2 separate regions of the Homo sapiens genome follow, and region 1 is linked to region 2. Evidence: promoter capture Hi-C in 16 types of primary human blood cells and fetal thymus (Javierre and others, 2016). All regions are on one chromosome and are shown on one strand. The core of a region is centred on a gene start or on the middle of the fragment in contact, and the rest is flanking DNA. Distances in the headings are between cores, read along the strand shown. Region 1 overlaps LAMA3 (laminin subunit alpha 3). Region 2 holds the start of ANKRD29 (ankyrin repeat domain 29).

Region 1 (6,646 bases), core at 500-2,999, 260 kb after region 2:
TGAAAGGCAGTAAAGCTTTATCTGAATGGGAAAAATCCCACCATTTTGGAATGCACGTAAAAATAACTTTTACATTTTGATCATTTGTATCCTCCCGGAAGGCTTTTAGATAGCTGACGATAGTGTGTGGACAGAACATATCCTGGAAGGATTAGTGCAGCCTCATGACTAAGTAAGAGTGCTCCCAGAAGGTTAGGTTATGATGACTTTTATATGAGATCTGAAGCTAGTTAACTCTTTTGCTAACTTATACATCAGTTGGAAGGAACTAGAATATGATTTATAAGGTGTCATGCCAAGGTATTCTTTCTTCTAGAGTCCTTATACATGTGGGCGTCTGTCCATTCTACGTAGTCAGGTACTAATCTTTGTTTTAAAGTTGTCAGGGTTGCCTCCAAAGGCAAAAATGCAAATGGGAAAGCTGGGCACTTCAACAGAACCTGGGGGTGACATCTTTACTCCCTGGGCTCTGGAAGGAGCCTTGCAGATCATGGTATGTAGCCCCTGAGTTTTACAAATGAAGAAATTCAGAGCCAGTGAGATTATATTAATATTTAATATTATCAATATCAAATAGCAATTCAGCCATGAATAGCCAGTTATGAATTGTCAGTAAGATTGATTTTATTTCCATGAAATGGAATAAAATAAAATCGTTTAAGGTAGTTTTTTCGAGTACTTTTGAGTATGTTTGAGAGTTGCCACTTATTCATTCATTACACAGGATTTATTGAGTGCCTAATGGGCATCAGGCAGAGTGACAGGTGCCAAGAAGGCAACAATGAGCAGGGTGGAGCCTGGAGAAGAACAGAAGAGAGACAGTCACTACAGGAGAACATGACGTGTGCCATAGGAGGAAGCTCAGGGTGCTGACAGAGCCCAGGAGGGAACCTAATCCAACTGGGGCCATCAGGAAAGTGACCTCCAGCTGGGACCTGAGAGATGCTAGCAGTCAGTGTATGTGAAGCACCAAAGCTGGATAGAGAAAGCATGAACTTGCAAAGAGCTAGAGTACAGCAGGAAGTGGGATAGGGATGCCCCATGGGGCTGATGTGGGCAGCAGGGGCCTGACCACAGAGTACCTTGAAAGTCACAGTAAGGAGCCATTGGAGGGACTTCAGCAGAGAAAGGCCATGACCAAATTTGGGTTTTCAGTAGCTCACTCTAGTGCAGGGCAGAGACTGGATTAGAGAAGAAAAGGGCAGAGGCAGGTAGAGTGGCTGGAGGCCGAGTATATTAACAGAGGTGAGTGATGAGGGTGACCTGGCCCAAGGAGTGGTTATGCAGGTGAGCAACAGGGATCAGATTCCAAATATATTTAGGATGGTGAATGGGCAGCACTGCACAATGGCTTGGGTTGGGGAATAAAGGGGAAAAGCAGTCAAGAATGATGCCTGGTTTTTGGCTAAGCCCTTGGCAGATGGAACACACCAACGGAGGAGTGGGGTGAGAAGTTAAGTCTGAGACAGGCTTAGTCCAGGAGCCTGAGACACAGCCAGGTGGAGAGGCCCACAAGCAGGCGCACAAAATGGCCTGGGCCTCCAGAAAGGAGGCCAGTCTGGAGAAGGGTAAATGAAGCTCAGGGCCAGGTAGTCATTGAGGTGGTAGAGGCCAGTGGGCTTACCCAGAGCCAGGAGGAATTCTCAAGTTGAGGCAATAAGGAACCCATTGGTGGTGGTTTGTGTTTGCATGATATTAACACAAGGCCCCTAGACAGTGATGTGGATGCCAGTCAGTCCAGGTTTTCTAGAAAAGAGCAGTAGGTAGAACCACAAAAGAGGTGGCTTTAGTTTTGGCTCAGCAAAACTTTAGGTTAATTCAGCACTCAACCTTTATTTGCCTTTTCATCTCCATCCATTAAAGAAATATATAGATATAGAGATGCATATACATAGAGAATTTGCTTTTTTAAAACAATTTTTTGTAGAGATGGGGTCTTGCTGTGTTGCCCAGGCTGGTCTCGAACTTCTAGCCTCAAGTGATCCTCCCACCCCCAGAATTCTGGGGTTACAGGCGTGAGCCACTGTGCCCAGTCCAGAATTTTCTTTCTTTTTTTGAGACAAGAGTCTTGCTCTGTCACCCAGGCTGGAGTTCAGTGGCGCCATCTTGGCTCATTGCAACCTCTGCCTCCTGGGCTCAAGTGATTCTCCTACCTTGGCCTCCTGAGTAGCTGGGATTACAGGCATGTGTCACCATGCCTGGCTAATTTTTTGTATTTTTAGCAGAGACGGGGTTCCCCATGTTGTCCAGGCTGGTCTTGAACTCCTGAGCTCAGGTAGTCCACCCACCTTGGCCTCCCAAAATGCTGTGATTACAGGCATGAGCCACCATGCCTGGCCTAGAATTTTCTTAGTAACTTATTTTGGGATCCTCCAAACAAGGGACTGCTTCCTTTTTCTGGGCAAGTTTTATACTTTGACCTTTTTTTTTCTTTTTTTTTTTTTTTTTTGAGACGAGGTGTTGCTCTTGTTGCCCAGGCTGGAATGCAATGGCATAATCTCGGCTTACTGCAACCTCCACCTCCCGGGTTCAAGCAATTCTCCTGCCTCAGCCTCCCGAGTAGCTGGGATTACAGTGCCTGCCACCATGCCCGGCTAATTTTGTGTTTTTAGTAGAGACGGGGTTTTGCCATGTTGGTCTGGCTGGTCTCGAACTCCTGACCTCAGGTGATCCACCTGCCTCTGCCTCCCAAAGTGTTAGGATTACAGGCATAAGCCACCATGCACAGCCTATATTTTGACTTTTTATTAAAATCACTGGAACATGGAAAATGCAGGAGATAGAGGCCAGTCAAAAGATTTCACTGGCCCTTCACTCCCTCTAAAGCAAAATTCTAAGGAATAGTCAGCTGTTCTGGGTGTTGCCTCATCCCTGTGGTGAAGTCTTTGGTGGCCCAGAGATTCCTGAAACTGCCATTGGGCATGAGTCACTGGGAGGTGGGGTGGGCACAGAGGAGTTCCATGGATAATCCACAGCCAAGCTCTGTAGGGGCAACCAGCCAACGCTTCCAGAGCAGGGAGGTGTTCTGGTCCCTGGCATAAATGGAGGGACCTTTTAGACAAAGTTCTCAAACCTAACCTGGAGCAAGGCAAGCAAGTGTAATCACTAAATCAGCTTTGCTCAAGGGATTTTGTGCACGTTTTGTTTCTTCCCCCTCTCACTGTAGTGTTTCTTCTGGGAATGGGGACCCAGATCTTGGAATGGCTTGTTTCCGATTATAATCAGAAATCATTCTGTTAATCCCATCTCCTACCCAGGAGAAGAGCAAATCATCCCTGGTAATGCCAGAGGGTGTGACACCAACAAGGGCATTTTTCTTGAGGACCTACACCATTGTTTACAGAGTGTGATTATACACACTAAAATGAAAATGATCCAAAAAGTAGATCTATTGAACATCGACTAAGTACCCAACACCAAGATTAGGGCTGCCTTTTGTTCTTTTTGCTCTCTGAAGTCGGCCTGCAACAGCCATGGAGCTGGCTAAGCTTTTGTGGACAGATTGGCCCAAAGTATACATAAATACCCCAACGCAGGAACCCACCAACACAACAACTCATGCCCCAGTGCAATCACATTCCTCTAGCAAGTATGTTCAGACCCTGTATCCTGGAGTAAATGTAGAACTGTAGGTCCTCAGGTAAGCCAAGGTAACAAGAATCCCCCCAGGAATAGTGGAAGTAAATCTCTTCCATTTTAACACTTCTGCTGTAGGTAACTCTTCTAGAAAAAGGCATGATCACTTCCAAGTGCTGCAGGAATACCAACTGTAAGTGTAAAAAGCAAGGGCTTCAAGCCTCACTAACCTGTGTGACACACTGACAGTACAGACCCCAGCTCTACCACTTACCAGCTGTGTGACCTTAGGCAAGGCCTTAACCTCTTAATGCCTCATTGCTACATCTATAGTATGGGCATAGTAGCTGCCTATCTCTTAGGGTGGTTGGAAGATTCAGAGTGTGTAAAGGAATTAGCAGAGGTCAGCACATGGTCAGTGCTCAATAAATGTTAGATAAGAAAACCTGCCCTTCCTGCACATGTATCCTAGAACTTAAAATAAAATAAAATAATATAAAAGAGAAAATACCTCCCTCAAAAGCTTATTGTAAGTTGGATTCATAGAGCTTCGTGCAAAATAGGTGGTCTGTATCTGTTAACTGCCTTTCTCTCCTACTATTTTCCTTTTCTGCAACCTTCTTTCTTTGACCAATAATCTATGGAGAGAGGGACATCTGGAATGTCGTTGTCCAAGAGATATGTTGAAACCCAAAGAAGAATTGACCTAAAACCATGTATAAATAGGCAAGCTCCAGGAATGGAAATGAACCCTCCTCCTCTTCTGAGGCAAAAGGCCATCTTTATAAAATAATTAGGCTTATACTGTAATGCCAGTGAGGATTTGTTTCTTTCTTTTCCTTTTAATGAAATTTAATTTTAGGTCTATTACAGGTAGCTCAACTGTTTCTAATGAATTGGATTAAAATGAATGCAGACACCTTTCCATTTAGAAAAGTAAGCTGCATTAGGGATTTAGAATGAAATCAGCTTTGGGTTTTCTTAGTACATCATTTGTTTAAGAAACACAAATATTTGCCTGGACTTCAGTTAGTTCATGTGTGTGAATGCTTTATGTGCATTCAGCTCCAGACAGATCCAGAAGTCAAATCGAAGGGGAAATGCCCTGGGGCCATGTAGAAAGAGCTGCTTTAGAAATTGCTCTCATTATATAAGAGCAGTAATATGGGAGTAGTTACTAACTTGACGATCTCACATTGAGTCCTTACTCTGTACAAAACACTGTTTGAGTGTGTTACACATATTAACTTTCTTAGACTATGACAGCCCTATGAAACAGATTCACATATTCCCATTGTCTAAATGAGGAAACAGGCACGGAGAAAAGTTGCCTGTTCAATCAGAAGGGACAGAACTTGAACCCAGGCAATTTGGCTGGTCCAGAGCAGCACAATTTTGCCTCTCAGAAACACCTGCTGAGCATTCACGTCCAGGTGCCATGCACTGCTGCAAGCTCTTGCTGTACGTTAACTTGTTTTTTTGGTTTTGTTTTTGTTTTTTGAGGCAGAGTCTCGCTTTGTTGCCAGGCTGGAGTACAGTGGCACGATCTCAGCTCACTGCAACCTCCGCCTCCCGGGTTCAGATGATTCTCCAACCTCAGCTCCCGGGTAGCTGGGACTACAGGTGCCTGCCACCACGTCCAGCTAATTTTTGTATTTTTAGTAGAGTTAAGTTTTCACAATGTTGACCAGCCTGATCTCGAACACCTGACCTCAAGTGATCCACCTGACTTGGCCTCCCAAAGTGCTGGGATTACAGGCATGAGCCACCCCACCCGGCCCGTTAATTTTTTAAATCCTGGCAATAACCCTTTGCCCACAGGTAGGAGGTGGTAGATACAGCAGCATATGAACCCAGACAATGTGTTCCATTGTTTCAGCTTGGCATTGGTTAAATCAAGCTACGTTTTTCATAATTGAATAGAACCAAAAAGTAACACTTTGTTTCTTCTGACTTTACAGTGGCTAACTTAACAGTGAACAGAAAAAAAAGAGCAAAAGGTTTTCTAGAGCACTCCTGGTTCCTACAAATGATTTATTACTTTATTAATATATATGTATATCATATATCATCTATTAACTTATTAATACATGTCCTATCCACCTGCAATGCCGTGACTCCAGCGGGGAGGGACGGGCAGTTCTAGATATTGTGCATGTTCTCTGTCTCTTTACCTTTTGCGGCCACTGGCCATTCTTCTGTTAACATTGTTGTCTGCATTTTTAAAGCTGGGAATGTAAACTTACACAGAAAGGAAGTCAGTTCTCCCAGCATCATAAAATAAGTAGCATTATGGGAATCCCATGGGAAAGGATAAACATAAAACACCTACTCATTTATGGGTGAAAAGTACTAAAGAGCACAGCGTTTCAGCTCTGATTTCACGTGAGCCTGACATGATCCATCTCTTCCTTTTATCTGTGTTCGTAATCAGATTTAACATTTCTACGCCTGCTTTCCGAGGCTGCATGAAAAATTTGAAGAAAACCAGTGGTGTCGTTAGATTGAATGATACTGTGGGAGTAACCAAAAAGTGCTCGGAAGACTGGAAGGTAAGTGAAAGTTCAGAACCTCGTGAAGGAGTGCTTCCCAGCCAACCCACCTTCCGTATCCATTAACGCAGCAACTTTTGACTTCTTTCTGATAGCACACAGTGTTACAGTGAACTGGCTCATATACACTCCCCATGTGCTTGCAAGATGCTGAACCTTTTCAGGTTTGCACATTAACTTTGTAGGAAAGTAGGAAGACCAACTATATACACAAAAACTTACAGATGATTGCTGACTTATTATGCAGAAAAGTAAGCTCTCTTTCTTTCTGAGGTTACATAAATCACATTAATCAGTTTGAGTAAAGTGAGATAGGGTAAGGTACTGTATTTCAGCCAAGAAATGATTACAATGCCAGTAATTTATTCCATGTTTGCATTTCAGCTTGTGCGATCTGCCTCATTCTCCAGAGGAGGACAATTGAGTTTCACTGATTTGGGCTTACCACCTACTGACCACCTCCAGGCCTCATTTGGATTTCAGACCTTTCAACCCAGTGGCATATTATTAGATCATCA
Region 2 (7,583 bases), core at 450-2,949:
CCATGGGTGCCTACTTAACACTGCTGACTCCTAAATCTCATCTCTAGCTGCTGCCCAGACTTGCCTCCTGGGATCGAGGAGAGTATATCTGTCTAATCAACATCTCTGCTTGGATTCCCATCTATCCTCAAAATTTATCCCAAACCAAACGTTTTATCTTTATCTCTCTTGCCTTCCCTACTGAATTATGCCGATTTAAAACTTTTAAAGTCGGCCGGGCGTAGTGGCTCACGCCTTTAACCCCAGCACTTTGGGAGGCCAAGGAGGGTGGATCACCTGAGGTCAGGAGTTCGAGACCAGCCTCGCCAACATGGCAGAACCCCGTCTCTACTAAAAATACGAAAAAATTAGCTGGGCATGGTGGCGCACGCCTGTAATCCCAGCTACTCTGGAGGGTAAGGAAGGAGAAATAGCTTGAACCCGGGAGGCGGAAGTTGCAGTGAGCTGAGATCACACCATTGCACTCCAGCCTGGGCAACAAGAGCAAAACTCCGTCTCAGGAAAAAAAACTTTAAAGTCATTCACATTCGTCTGCTTCGTTCCATTCTCACCACCTATGCACTGGTCCAGTACCATTTCTTAAAAAGATGACAACATCTTCCAGCTCCAACCCTCTTCTCCAAACCTAGCCAGAGATCTTTGCAACATGCACATCTCGCCATGTCACTCCTCTGCTTACATGAGCTATTGTCGGCAACGGGATTACAGTGGCTTAGGAGTCAGACACACTTGGGTTTCAGTCTTAACACCATAACTTATTGGCTGCAAAACCGTGGGTGAGTTAATTTCTCTATATCTTAGTTTTCTCATTTGAAAAAAAAAAAAAAAAGAGCCACGAAGAGCACCTCCCACAGGTCTCCCCCAGGGTTGAGACCATACACACCATGTCCTTGGTTCAGAGTCAGGCACATTTGAACTGTTTAATACATTTTAACTGCTATTTTTATTAAACCCTTTCAATCGAGGCAAATCAACCTCTTTCATCCTAAAATGTGGGGATTAGATGGAATGACTTTAATCAACTCTTTTGAGACAAGACACCTTTGGACCCTGAAGCCTCCCTGGGTGCTGGCCACCCCTCCGGGGAGGAGGCATCCGTGGGTGCAGCTGGTACTCCTGCATGAGGACCCAGAGGGTCAGGGTCGGGGACTCCTTCTGCTGCAGGACAGCGCTGACCCCAGGCTTCTTACCCGCCCCCGACCTGTTACCCGGCGACAGTCCCCGCCGCCCCGTCGCCGGGCACAGACTCAGCCGATCCACAGCCATGAGTGCGAAGCCTCTCAGGCAGGGCAGGCAGGCAAACCGCAAACCCACAGGGCGCACCCAGCCCCGCCGCTTCCTCCCGGGCCTCGCCCGCAGCTGGAGGAGAGAGGAAGGAGGAGGCGGCGGGCAGCGGGCAGCGCCCACCCCATCCCACCCCATCCCACCCCACCCGACCCCGCGGGCCCGGCCGCCCGAGCCCGGCCCCAGCCCTGACCCCGGAGTCCCGGTCGCTCACCTTGAAGGACATCCTGCACATGTCCGCGGCCGCCCGAGCGGGAGCCGGCGCGCTTTGGGCCCGGGGCGCCTTGTCCTCCCCGGCCCTTCACTCTCCCGGGGCTCTCGGCGTTCCGCAGAGGGGCGGCCTCCGACGCCGCGCGCTCCCGCCGCCCGGCCCGGCAGCAGCCGCCGCACACAGGGCCGGGCCGAAGGGGCGGCGCGGGGGCGCGCGCGCGCGCACACTACACATGGGGTGTCGCGTGGACGCGCTCCAGGACCTGCCACACACGCGCGTGCACAAACACCCCAAACTCCGCACGCACTGTGCACTTTCCACACACGTCCACACTTCCACACTCACTCGTCCACACACACACTCCAAACTCCACACACATTGTGCATACGCTCCACATTCCACACACACAGAGGTTCCACACACATACTTTCCACACTCACGCCCACTCACCCGCATGTACTCACACACAAACTCCATACATATCCTCCCAAATAGACTGGTCTGCCCCAGAGGACTCCCAACCTTCATTACAGCACAAATATTATAATGATGTAAAAATGAAGCTTGAGGAAAAAATTCATCCAATAGCTATTTTCGTTATAATTTCTTTCTCGGTTTCCTGGGAAACTTTTTTCTCCTGGGGAAAATATCTAGGAAACAAACCTTTTGATTGCACAAACAATAAGTGGTCTTTTCCTCTTTGAAGGGCAAAGGCCAATTTTGGAATAGACTCATACCCCTCCTCCTCCTCCGCGTTATTAATCCAGCAGTTCCCTCCTCCTCTGGGTCTGATGCTGCAGCCCTGGAGTATTGCAGTATGTGTGTCCACTCCTGCTGCCTGCCCAGGATTGGTTTGGGCGAAGTAAAACTGGGAGTTTTAAGTATAAACGGCAACAACAGCTCTTTGAGAGCATTTTAGAAAAGTGAAAGTAAAAAAGTAGCCCAGGCATAGTGGCTCACGCCTATAATCCCAACTCTTTGGGAGGCCAAAGGCGGGCAGATCACTTGAGTCCAGGAGTTCGAGATCAGACTGGCCAACATGGCAAAACTCTATCTCTACTAAAAATACAAAAATTAGCCAGGCGTGGTGGTGCGCACCTGTAGTCCCAGCTACTCGGGAGGCTGAGGTGGGAGGATCGCTTGAACCTGGGAGGTTGAGGCTGCAGTGAGCCAAGATTCGGTCACTGCACTCCAGCCTGGGCAACAGAGCAAGACTCTGCCTCAAAAATAAAAATAAAAACAAAACAAAAAAATAGTATAAAAATGGAGGTCTTACCCCCTCAAACTATAAGAATCCACTCATTCATTCTCCCCCTCCTTCCCTCTTCTCAATTAAATTTGTAACGAATATTTAATTTAAAAGGTAGAAAACAATTACAAATAAAAGTTAATGATAAAAATTAAAATGTTTAACCTTCATGGATAAATTGTATTACTTTGTGCTTAAAACAACTTTAAATTAAAAACATTCTGAACTTTTATAGAAAATTCCAATTTTAAAAATAAGGACTCTAAACATTTTCCTTGCCTTGAGTGCCTATAAATGACACAGTTTTTAAGTTGCCACACAACGTTATTATATAAAAATCAAGCATCAGAGGTTTTGCTTTAATAGTTTTTTGTTTGTTTGTTTGTTTTTTCTTCTCAGATGGAGTTTCGCTCTTTTGCCCAGGCTGAAGTGAAGTGGCATGATCCTGGCTCACTGCAACCTCCACCCCCCGGGTTCAAGCAATTCTCCTGCCTCAGCCTCTCGAGTAGCTGGTATTATAGGCTCCTGTCACCGTGCCCAGCTAATTTTTGTATTTTTAGTAGAGACAGGGTTTCGCCATGTTGGCCAGGCTGGTCTCGAACTACTGACCTCAGGTGATCCACCTGGTTCGGCCTCCCAAGGTGCTAGGATTACAAACGTGAGCCACCGCGCCTGGTCTGCTTTAATAGTTTTGATAAATAAAAGGGAGAAAGGAAAGAACTAATATTTTGAGTGTTTTCTAGGTACAAGGTGCTTTCCTTATAAACATTTTATGGGGTGAGTATTAACCCATTCCACGGATGAAAAAACTAAGATTCTGAGAGATTGGAGTAATTTGCTAATAAGTGATAGGGCTAGGTGTTTGTCTAGCTCCAAAGCCTGTTTCCTTTCCGTTACACTTGAGCTCAAAGCTGCTTTTCTCTGGCCAGGGTGCTGATGGGATTCTTGTCAGTCTCTGGAAAGAACGTGCCTAACACCGTCTGACACACGCGGTTAAACTCATCTTCATATAAACAGCTCTGAAATGGAACAAAGCTCTCATGGTCACAACAGGCAATTCTTTCTAAAATGGTCCACTCCAAACTTTAATAGTGACCCACTGGACCTAATACAAGATTTAATCTGCACGGCCCAGTTTTCTTATCCAAACATCTTCTCACTACCCAAACAGAGCCTCTCCATCCTTGTCATCCTGTCAAACAAAAGGGATAAAGGAAAAAACTAATATTTTGAGTGTTTTCTAGGTACAAGGTGCTTTCCTTATAAACATTTTATGAGGTAGGTATTATACCTATTCCATAGATGAAAAAAGTAAAATTCTGAGAAAATGGAATAATTTGCTAATAAGTGATAGAGCTAGGCGTTTGTCTAGCTCCAAAATCTTATCACTGCTCTCTTCCCACTACGGCTCTCTTTCATCTCCTCTCTTTTGTCTGCCAAATCCCAACCTACCCAGGGTGTTACCCCCAGCTCAAGTTCCTCTTCCTACACCCTGGTTCTCAGTCATCTTCCTCCCAACTTTGCTGAGCTCTTGCCATGGTTCTGCTCTACACCACATCCCTCAACCCTGATTCCACAGGGTCTGGTATTGCTCTCAGTTCTACTTCTGTTGCTTTTGATTTCTTCAGCAGAGTTGAAATTCTTCAAGGCCAGGCCCTGTGTCTTATGTATCTTTTATTTTCCCCAGGGGCTAATTTACGGCTGGAGGCATGGTAGATGGTCAAAACTTATTCATCATTGAATTAGTAAAAGAGTCAGGGGGTTGTGTTATCCAAATCTACCAAGTCAGAAGGCCCACTCTTATCCACAGACATGCATTACTCAGATGCACAGACATCTGTGTTGATCTCAAATGAGTCCATAGTCATTGTCACCTTCTGTTCACACCAGCACAGACCTTGATGTGTTTGGCCTCTATTTTGCACTGTCCCAGTTGATGGTCCAACAGGATTTGCCCTCGACAGAATTGAGAAGTAGGTCAATCTGGTCTACTGAGCTTTCTTTTTTTTTTCTTTTTTCTTTCTTTCTTTTTTTCAAGACGGAGTCTTGGTCTGTTACCCAGGCTGGAGTGCAGTGGCATGATCTTGGCTCACTGCAACCTCCACCTCCCGGGTTCAAGCGATTCACCTGCCTCAGCCTCCTGAGTAGCAGGGATTACAGGCACAGGCCACCAAACCCGGCTAATTTTTGTATTCTTAGTAGAGACGGGGTTTCACCATGTTGGCCAGGCTGGTCTCAAACTCTTGACCTCGTGATCTGCCAGCCTCTGCCTCCCAAAGTGCTGGGATTACAGGCATGAGCCACTGCGCCCAGCCTACTGAGCTTTCTAACACCCTTTTTGTAATCAGGCTCCTTCATCCAACTAAGAGTTCATGCTGGACATCTTTTCTGTCTTTATTCTCTGTCTACTTCCCCATCCCACATCTTTTAAAATTTTTGTATCTATTTATTTTTTATAAGGATAGGGTCTCTGTCACCCAGGCTGGAGTGCAGTGGCAGGATCACAGCTCACTGCAGCCTGGAATTCCTGGGCTCAAGCAATCCTAATGCCTCTGCCTTCTGAGTAGCTAGGACTACAGGCACATGCCACTATACCGTCTAATTTTTAAAAACATTTTTTTACAGATAGGATCTCGCTATGTTGTTCAAGCTGGTCTTGAACTCCTGGCCTCAAGCCATCCTCCCACCTCAGCCTCCCAAAGTGCTGGGATTACAGGCATGAGCCACCATGCCCAGCCCTTGTTTAATTTTTAATTTTTATTTAATTTTATTTTTTAGAGATGGGGCATCACTATATTGCCCAAGCTGGTCATTAAGTCATAGGCTCAAGTGATCCTCCCTGTCAGCTTCCCAAAGTGCTGGGATTACAGGTGCATGCCACTATGCCCAGCTTCCACCTCACATCTCCCAGCTAGTTAGCTCCGTCTCTCCTAACCTATTGGAATTTACCCTAGATGAGGCTTCTTGCAGTGGGGACTGTAGCAGACACAGCTTGGAGTAATCTACCCAACACCCATTGCTCCCTTCCTTTCCCTATCAGAATGTCAGTTTTGCTCAGTTTTGTCCATCATACTCCCCCTGGAGATTTGCTTAAGGGGAACATAGCCCTTTGTTCCATCCAAAGTCCTCTTGTTTAGGCTGGTGATAGTGCTTGAATTAGGTGTGGGCAGGTGACAAATTCTGATCTTTGAGATGTCAGAGGAGGTGTGTTGGGGGCTTTTGAGAAAGATTTCCTTGGTTGTAAGACATACCCAGGAGAAGATGGTCCTTATTCCTTGGGACACTGTACTGTACAAGTACAATGCCTGGAATGACTGCAGACACCTTGTGACCATAAGGAAAACTACCCCCTGAAGGTGGCAGAGCAGACCATGGTGTCACTAAGGCCCTGTGTTGACCAATGGGGAATTCTTATTTCTTTCTTTTTTCTTTGAGATGAAGTTTCGATCTTGTTGCCTAGGCTGGAGTGAAATGGCATTATTTCAGCTCACTGCAACCTCTGCCTCCTTGGGTTCAAGAGATTCTCCTGCCTCAGTCTCCTGAGTTGCTGGGATTTCAGGCTCATGCCACCACGCCTGGCTAATTTTTGTACTTTTAGTAGAGACAGGGTTTCACCATGTTGTCCATGCTGGTCTCAAACTCCTGACTTCTTGATCTGCCCGCCTCAGCCTCCCAAAGTGCTGGGATTACAGGTGTGAGCCACCGTGCCCAGCTCACAATCTTTCTTAAGCATACAGTAACATAATGGGAATATGTATATTCTGCTCTTTACAAAGCATGATAATGTGAGCATTTCCTCCTAGCATTAACAGTTCTCTGAAAATCTGTAATTTATTTATTTATTTATTTTGAGATGAAGTTTCGCTCTTGTTGCCCAGGCTGGAGTGCAAGGGCATGATCTTGGCTCACTGCAACCTCCCCGTCCCAGGTTCAAGTGATTCTCTTGTCTCAGCCTCCCGAGTAGCTGAGATTACAGGCACATGCGACCACACCCGGCTAATTTTTGTATTTTTAGTAGAGACGGGGATTCATCATATTGGTCAGGCTGGTCTCGAGCTCTTGACCTCAGATGATCCACCCCCCCCGCCGGCCTCCCAAAGTGCTGGGATTACAGGCATGAATGAACCACCATGCCCAGCAAAATCCATCTCTTATGGCTGCAGTTATATTGCATATACTATAATTTATTCAACCTTTCTTCTTTTATAAAACCTTTATGTAGATTTTCATTTTTATTATTAAAAATAACTCTACTCAGCCAGCCTTCACTAAAGGCATTTCTGCTTATTGTAATGACACACACCCAGCGAGGCACATTGAAAACCAGAGGAAACTAGACGATGTGTAAAGTTCTGCCGCCCAATTTTTTAGCATCATTGAAAACCCTAAGATGGAAAGCATCTTTTGGAACCCTGAAATTCTACCATCCAAGAAAAAATATTCTTTTATTACTCTTCTACGGTGGCTCACCCCTGTAATCTAAGCACTTTGGGAGGCCCAGGAGGGCAGGTTGCCTGAGCTCAGGAGTTTGAGACCAGCCTGGGCAGCACAGTGAAACCCCGTCTCTACTAAAAATACACAAAATTAGCTGGGTGTGGTGATGCGCACCTGTAGTCCCAGCTACTCAGGTGGCTGAGGCAGAAGAATTTCTTGAACCCAGGAGGTGGAGGTTGCAGTGAGCCGAGATCGCACCACTGTACTCTAGCCTGGGTGACAGAGCGAGACTGCATCTCAGAAAAAACAAAAACAAACAAAAAAACCTCTACACTTCCAGCCTGGGCAACATGATGAAACCCTACCTCTACTAAAAAAAAAAAAAATACAAAAAATTAGCCAGGC

Evidence for each region. The method cuts DNA at HindIII sites, captures the fragments that hold promoters and counts their contacts. A CHiCAGO score of 5 or more calls a contact.
Region 1: a fragment that was not itself captured here is called in contact with the fragment with the promoter of ANKRD29 in region 2 in 3 of 17 cell types (M0 macrophages, M1 macrophages and total CD8 T cells); the score reaches 7.6 in M0 macrophages.

The regions. Positions count from the first base shown.
Region 1 is chr18:23,922,113-23,928,758 of GRCh38, forward strand. LAMA3 (laminin subunit alpha 3) reads left to right here. Exons shown (of 75, transcript NM_198129.4): 63 at 6,011-6,128; 64 at 6,513-6,646. Among named protein-coding and RNA genes, the nearest start is that of LINC02958, 57 kb to the right of the region's middle. The HindIII fragment of the contact is 3,473 bases long and covers 14-3,486 here.
Region 2 is chr18:23,661,212-23,668,794 of GRCh38, forward strand. ANKRD29 (ankyrin repeat domain 29) reads right to left here and starts at 1,700. Exons shown (of 10, transcript NM_173505.4): 1 at 1,499-1,700. The coding sequence starts at 1,519. RefSeq lists a silencer at 7,554-7,583. The HindIII fragment of the contact is 8,557 bases long and covers 1-2,056 here.